Regions from separate parts of the Homo sapiens genome. Here region 2 is linked to region 1. Evidence: promoter capture Hi-C in 16 types of primary human blood cells and fetal thymus (Javierre and others, 2016). All regions are on one chromosome and are shown on one strand. The core of a region is centred on a gene start or on the middle of the fragment in contact, and the rest is flanking DNA. Distances in the headings are between cores, read along the strand shown. Region 1 holds the start of ZFPM2 (zinc finger protein, FOG family member 2). Region 2 holds the start of LINC03084 (long intergenic non-protein coding RNA 3084).

Region 1 (4,115 bases), core at 644-3,143:
TTTGGGTGACATAAAAATTCAGCCAGTTCTGTAAAAAGATCTTTAAAAACCATAATGTACAATACATCTGATTCTAAGCACACCAATTTAACTGTAATGAATTGAAAATGAAGGAGGTAAAAATCTGCAGTTCTCTCTCTGCTTATTTATTCCACAACACAAACATAAATGGCCCTGCTTTTCATGGTACTTTCAGCCTTAATTTGTTGGTTCTTCACAGGAGGGACTTTGTCATTTAGTGCATTTTCCACTGCAGAGGACTATGTATTCTTACAGCCTCCTATGGTAATAGTACTAATGGTAATGTAATAAAATTCACAATTTGTCTTCAGCTTTGTATTAAGATTCTCTTGGCCATACCTTTCACAAGGCAACTCTTTACACCTTCCAGAAGATGTCCTGTTGGGGTTATAAATGACACTGATTACAGTGCCTCTTACACACTGAGCATCTTGCATTATGCTCAATCAGCCCAGGCTCTGTGCTGACCCCAGACCCTTTTAGAGTATCCAGTTTGGTGTGGTTCACACAAATAATAGTCAACCAAGCAAACGGGGACACAATTTGAGATCAGAATGGTCCACTTCACAACCTCCTGGGGGAAAAGTCAGCAGTATCTGGGGGACTCATGTGAACTGCAGTGGAGTTTATTAGTAAATACTGATTACATAAAGCAGCTAGTCCCACTGCACTTGGATAGAAGCTCCTTCCAACCCACATGGGAGAATATATTTAATACTTACCGTATATGAAACTGTAAGAAAATAAGCTAACCTCATACAGTTTAACTTGGCCAAAATAATAACTATGCAAATCACCTCAAAATTTGTTCTCCTTTTGGCTTGCAGTTGCCGATATACTACACATACAGTAATTGAATAAGAATAAAACAAAATTTTAGAAGCTAAAGAACCATTAAATAGTTACTGGGTCTTACCCGCTTGGGAAATTACAGCAAGATCAAATCTTTTATTAGTCGATCGGTGCTTCCCTGTGGCAGAAGACTAAGAGAATAGAAAGGTCACGGGGCAGGGTGGGACTACAGAACTTCCCCAGACTTTCCCAAAAAGTTAGTATTTTTATTAGAGATGGTTCGTTTTCCACTTACGGCTAATCAGCTAGCTAACGCTCGCTCCTCCTTTTCAAGATGAGAAAAATATCTGCTTGTCTCCAAATTTGAATATTTTACAATTTAAAATGGAAACTGTGGGTGACAGAACACGTTGAGGATCCGACTCAGCACCTCATCCACGTGGGCCCAGAGCGGGACGGTCCGTGTCCGCAGCGGTCTCCTGGGAGCCTTGAGAGCAAAGAAATGGTCTTCTGAGAGCCTGGGCAGATGAGCGGACTTAACTGGCCCCAAGACACACAGTTGGCATTTGTGATCATCTGGCTCTCGCCGAGGACTTTGCCAGTGGCCTAACCTTCCTGCCAAGAAGCTGGGAGGGCGGGGGTTGGGGGTGAGGGGAGGGGGCGGCATAACTGAAAGCACAAAGTTTAGGGAGAGACTGAGATTTCTTTGTGCCCCGCTGGACTGGCGAGGCGTGAGAGAGGAGAGTTGGGGTCCCTCAGAGAGGGCCGTTGGAAGAAGTTGCCTGGAAGGAGGTGGGGCGGGGTGCCCTGGCAGCTGCCCAGCGTTGACGCGGTGACAACTGCAGAAGGTGGCCCTCCTCCAAGCCGTCCCCACGCCTCCCCTCCAACTCCCACCCACCCCTGCCCCCATCCCCCACCACCGCCTGGATCCCCCGCACTTCGCCCGACCAAGGCCGGGGCCGTAGTTTGCATCCGGACTGGATTTGGATGCAGCCAATCCTCCTTTGGCTGATGGAATAGTCTCCCCTCCCCACAGCCCCGGCGCGCCCCTCCCTCGCGCGCCTCGCCGCCTCCCGCCGCAGAACAGGAGCTGCGCGGCCCGGAGCGGCGGCGGCGGCGCCGGAGTATCCGTCCCGCACGCCGGGGCGAGGGGCGAGCGAGCGCGCTCCTCCTCCCGCGCCCTGCGCCCCCGCGCTCCCCCTCTCCTCGCTGCTCGCTCTCCCGTCCCTCCCTCCTTCTCTTCCTTCTTTCCGTGTTATTTTTCTCTTCTCTTTCCCCTTTTCTCTCTCCCTGACCGTTCGCTTGTACATTCCCATTCTCCCCCCGTCGCTCTCCTCTCCCCCTCCCCTCCTCACTGTCACACTCTCTGTGCCCCCGTCTCTCTTCTCTCATTTGCTTGCTCATCTCCGAACGTGAATCCGCGGCTCCCGGAGGAGCCCAGCGCCCGGAGCACCTGGAGTCCGGCCGGCGGCGGGCCGAGCCTGGCCAGCGGCGGCGGCGGCGGCGGCGGCGGCGGGAGCCGAGGGAGCGGCAGCCGCGACCGCGGGCACCGCGGGAGCCCCAGCGGCAGCAGCCGCCGCCGAGATGTCCCGGCGAAAGCAAAGCAAACCCCGGCAGATCAAACGTAAGTTTGCGCGCGGGGCCGGGAGTTGGTGGGATTATTGCCCAGGAGCGGGGTGCGCGGGACGGGAAAGCGGTGGGTGGGTGGCGGGGCTAGGGGAGATCCGCTCCCGGTCCCCTAGATGTCTCAAACTTTGCCTGAGCAGTCGAAGGGACAACTAGACAGTCATAGACAGACAGACGGCCAGCCCGAGCCTCGGGCAGGAGAGAGGCTGCGAGGAGCAGCCCATGCTTGCCCCGCTCAGCCCTCGCGCTCCCGGGCTGCTTTTTTAATTCCGACCCGCGCACGCTGCGAGTCCCCGGCGCTGTCGTCCAGCCGGAGGGGCAGTCCCGCTCCTTTAGACGCTTATTATTGTTGTTGTCATTGCTTTGTGCGATTGACGTGGGACTACTCTTGGGAACCACTTTTAGTAACCAGGGTAGAAACTTCTCAGAAAAGCTGGGCGGTCGAGACCTCGGGGCGAGGGAGGTAACTTCCCCACGCGGTGGAAAATCAGAGCGTCAGGGTCCCGATCCTGGGCGGTGCCAGAGCCACACCAAACCCGAAGCGAAACAAAAAGTAGGTGTAAAAGTTCGCGCCTCTGCGGCGGGCGGCCGTGCGTCTCTGCCCTGCGGGCGCGGGCTGGTGGCTGGCAGGTCGTGTCCTGGGACTTCGGGCGGGTCCGGCTCACGCCGCCAGGACGCTCAGCCGAGCGGGGATTCGGGTGGTGTCTGGCCCTGGTGGCGCGCGGAGTCCTCCCTGGGAGGGGCCGCCAGTCACTTCCCAGCGCGGAAGCTGTGAGTTCAAGGCGGTGGGCGCGCAGGGGAGTGCATGGCCCTGAGCCCCCGGGTGCCCGGGGGTCCCGATGGTGCTTAGAGGACACGGCGGGTCAAGAGACACCTTCCGAAACAGGCACGCTCGCAGAGATCAAGTCGGTCAACTTTTCTTGGCTTGGGGAGAATTCCTCCAATAGCGTTTTATAGGCCTGCGACATATCTTCAACGCTTTGGCCGAAAAGAAGAAAAAACCTTATTAGTTTATTTTTTGCTAGCTTTATGATGTGTCTGTTTCACCGTGTTGCTCAGAGTCTGCAATTAGTTTTAAACAAATTATGATGTAATTTAAGGATAAGACTTTAGTAGTATCCCTTTCCCCCCTGATTATTAACCATACTCGCCCCACCCCCAAATGTTGAAAATTCTATTTGGTGTAGTTTAAAAATAAATCTTATCAATCAACTTGTCCTTGAAATGGGGGCCAGGTTATAAACAGTTATCAACAGTTAAGTATTCAGATCTTTGTGTGTGTGTGTGTGTGTGTGTGTGTGTGTGTGTGTGTGTGTCTGCTACTTAAACATGACTTTCTAGCTTTTATTTCTTCGATTCCTTCTCTTATACTTCAGTTCTCACTCTATGCAACTTGGGTTAAAGCAAGTACTGGACTTCACTTTTGGCTCAAAGCAGTTTTAATCAAGTAGCGATATCGTTTTTGAAGACTCACTTTTTCAGAATGATTATTCATGGTTTCCACCAATTGCCTTGTAGTTTTTAGGACTCAATTGATCAGATTCCTCTGTTTAAATGTTGCATCTTAGAATACAAAACCGTGCTTATTATAAGATATGATTATAAACATTATTAGATACAAATGCTTTTTAGTTCATGGCTGTCACCTGGGTTTGTTAATAAATAATTAATATTAA
Region 2 (3,971 bases), core at 1,287-3,786, 130 kb before region 1:
CAAGCTGCTAAACTAGGTGAATGGGTGCTCTAAATGCCTGGATATCTTCCTGGGCACGGAGTGGAGAGGGCCCCACTGCACCTTGATCTATGTTCATGAAGGGTGAGACAGCTCATGCTGATGATTCAGGCAATCAGGTGCTCTAAATGCCTGGATATATGCCTGGGGGTGGAGTGGAGATGGCCCCATTTCACCGTGATTTCAGGGAAGCAGGCTGGGGCACCCAGCAATGGCATCCACAGACTGGTTCCAGGTCACTGAACTGGCTCTACCTGCAAGTCTCACTGCCTAGGATAAACTGCAGCTTTAGAAGCTCTCCCCACCCTAGACTTGTCACAAGGAAGAGCACAATTCCAGCGCCTACTGTTGAGGTGCTTTCCACAGTTCTGGCTGTGGAGGCCACAACCCGGCCCCAGAGCAGGCACTCCAATGTCTGGCCTGAGACTCAAATGTCTGTGTGACCATGCTGCCAGGTTACCAAAGAATGGCTGACCAGATCATGCAACCAGATTAAAAATGTTGTCCTCCTCTCAATCCCAGGTCTAGGAAAATGTCTGAAGCTTTTCCCACTGTCTTTCCCTCATGGCATCTCCAAGCCTCTCCTCAAGTTAGTTTCAGGGTTTGAGAGAAACAAAGTGCTCTCCCTTGGGTTGCTCAGATCCCTAGTGGAAAGGTGAGTCATATAGGGCAGCTCTCTGCATCTCTCACTTACTGAGGCTTCACTTACTTTTGTCAGGCAGATGCCATCATTGGGATTTTTGCCAGCATTCTCTCTGAGATCTTGGATGCTTTTCATTATTTCAGTAGATTCCTGTTTTCCTTCTTGAATTAACACTGAGTTTATCTTTATGCACTATCTGTCTATTTCCAAATGGCTGAGGCATGGTAAAAGCATATAATCTAGCATCTTTGGAAAAAATGGAAGCAAAATTATGTAAGTTTTGAATACCATGTTGTAGGATAATAATATAGATGTATTTTTGCTTAAAGCCAAACTTTTTTATGTTGTGTTGTCATTGTTGTGGGGTTTATTTGTTTACTAAACTCTGCAAGAGGTAAAATCAGATTACACTGTAATATTTGCTATATGAGATATTTTCTTCTACTAATTGCAAGCTAAAAATAAGTTAACCAATGGCTCCCTGTTAGGAAATTAAAAATACAATTTCATATGTTTCTTACGAGGACTAAAGAACCATAAACCTCTTCTTTGCGTATAAGGATGGCAAAGAGCTCAATTTTTTTCTGAGCAATTTTGTTCCCTTTTCTGAATGGTAAATTTAGTATTATTGAATAATAGACTACAACGATTTAATCTTGAATTATTTTATCAAAGGACACTTAGGTTATTTTATTTATTTCCAAGAGTATTTCTTGTATTTAGTTTATGTTTGCTTATACGTGATAGAACATATATGAATCTATTCTGGATTACCAATATTGAATAACAAAAAGGATGTTTGGCAGATTATAGACAAATATTTTAGAAAGCATATTCTGCTTAAAATTTTATTTTTCATACAGTCACGAGTAATCAACTCATAACTAACCTATAACTTAATGTCGATGCCCCAAAGCTAAAGAGAAGGTCCATAGGAAAATAAGAAAATAGATGTAAAAAGAAGTACTTCTAGAGACATGAAATTTCAGTACAACAAATAGATAAATCTAAAACTTCCTTTAGAATTATTTTCCATCTATAATTTGACTTATCAGCACCATTTGTTGATATCACACAATAAAAAAAGACTTCAAAATTCAGAATATAAAATTCTAAACCCTGCCCGATACTAATCAGGAGTAAAAACAAAATAAAATATTTTAAGGCTTTCAAATCTTGAATTTACCTCTCATGTTCCTTTTCTGAGGATGGTTCTTAATGATATCATTCGTGATAATGAATCAGAAAACAGAAACAGAAACTAAGAAAGACAAATTGTGCAATATAAGAAGCGAGGAAATTCACCCTGGAAGCTAAAGAAAACAGACTCTAGAATGACAGCGTTTGGTAAACACAGAAAATAATTGGCAGTCTTAGAATAGGAATTTAGTGGGCTACAAGACAAACATCTTTGGAGGAATTAAATGGACATCAGCAAGATGATTGAATAGGGAGCCCTAGCCTCTCTTTCCTCTAAGGAGAAAGCAATTCAACAACAATACAGACCATTTCCCTTTGTGAGAAATCCAGAAACCAACTAAAAGGTTCCAGCATCCCAGGCAAACACAAACCCAGCTGCACCAATGCCAGTAGGAAGATTCATGGCAAACACTTACCATAGGCCCTCTTCCTCAGTGCAATGCAATTGAGAGAAAACTCCCAGATCTCAGTTTCTCCCTTGGAATGGAAAGAGAAGACTGAAACATATGTCCAATGTTGAGACTTTTTCAGGAGCTGCCCAAGGGACTGGTTTATGTCCTGACTAGAAGAACACTGACAGGAAGGGGTGCCAAGTTGAGAGCTGCTGAGAACAAAGGCAAAAATTTGGACCCTTCACTGGCCATGGTCGCTTCCTCTGGCTCAGTAAATAAAGAGTAGAAGAAAACCTCTAACTCCTTGCTTCCTCCTGGAGAGGAAAAGAAATAAAACCAGCAACCAAATTTCTGGCTTTTGGCAGCCTATCTGAGAGGACTAGTTTTTATCTTGCTATCTCAGAGCCATATATGACAAGCCCATAGCTAACATCTTGCTCAACAGTTAAAAACTGAAAAATTTTCCTCTCAAATCAGGAACAAGGCAAGAATGCCCAATCTTGTCACTTCTATTTAACATAGTTCTTGAAGTCCTAGCTAGAGCAAATAAGCAAGACAAAGAAATAAAAGGCATTCAAGTCAGAAAGGAAGATGTAAAATGATCTCTATTAGTAGATTACATGGGTACACAAAAAATTCTCAAGATTCCACAAAAAAAAACCTGTTAGAACTAATAAATTCAGCAACATTGCAGGATCCAAAATTATCACAAAAATTACTTATGTGGCTATACACTAACAATGAAATATCCAAAAAGAAAATTAAGAAAACAATCCTTACAATACTTACAATACTTACAATAGCATCAATAAATATAAAATACTTAGGAATAAACTTAACCAAAGAAGTGAAAGTCTTCTACACTGAAAAACTATAAAACATTACTGAAAGAAATTAAAGAAGACACAAATAAATGGAAAGACATCCCATGTTCATAGATTAAAAGACAAGATTGTAAAAATGCCCATATTGCCCAAAGAGATCTATAGGTTCAATGGAATCCCTATCAAAATCTCAGTGGCATTTGTTGCACAAATAAAAAAGCATCCTTAACCTCATATGGAACCATAAGAGAGCCGAACTAACCAAAGTAAAATTGAGAAAAAATAACAAAAAAAAAAAGCCTCACACTTTGTGACTTCAAAACGTATTACGAAGTTATAGTGATTAAAAATTTGTATATGGGACTGGCATTACAGACATATAGACCAGTGTAACAGATTAGAATGGCCACAAATAAATCTACATATATATGATTAACAAGCATGACATCCTTCAACAAGGATGTCAAGATGTCATCATTGTTGACATCCTTCAACAAGGATGTCAAGATGGCACTATGGGAAAAGGATAGTCCCTTCAGCAAATGGTGTTGGGAAAGGTGGCCATTCACATGCAAAAGATAGAAATTGGACCTTTATCTCACACCAAACACAGAAATCAATTCAAAATAGTCTGTGATTTGTCTTTTTCTGTTTTGTTTCCTTTTAAATTTTTGTGGGTACGTAGCATGTGTATATATTTATGGGGCACATGAGATATTTTGATACAGGCATACAATGCATAGTAATCACATCAGAATAAGTGGCATATTCATTACCTCAAATATTTATACTTTATTCGTGTTACAAACAACCCAATTATGCTCTTTTAGTTATTTTTAAATGTACAATAGATTATTGCTAACTGTAGTCATCCTGTTGTTTTATCAAATACTA

Evidence for each region. The method cuts DNA at HindIII sites, captures the fragments that hold promoters and counts their contacts. A CHiCAGO score of 5 or more calls a contact.
Region 2: the fragment with the promoter of LINC03084 here is called in contact with the fragment with the promoter of ZFPM2 in region 1 in 2 of 17 cell types (erythroblasts and megakaryocytes); the score reaches 7.5 in erythroblasts.

Annotation. Positions count from the first base shown.
Region 1 is chr8:105,316,545-105,320,659 of GRCh38, forward strand. It overlaps ZFPM2 (zinc finger protein, FOG family member 2), which reads left to right and starts at 1,894. Exons shown (of 8, transcript NM_012082.4): 1 at 1,894-2,437. The coding sequence starts at 2,398. The HindIII fragment of the contact is 6,875 bases long and covers 1-4,115 here.
Region 2 is chr8:105,186,259-105,190,229 of GRCh38, forward strand. LINC03084 (long intergenic non-protein coding RNA 3084) reads right to left here and starts at 2,537. Exons shown (of 3, transcript NR_187537.1): 1 at 2,278-2,537. The HindIII fragment of the contact is 4,322 bases long and covers 559-3,971 here.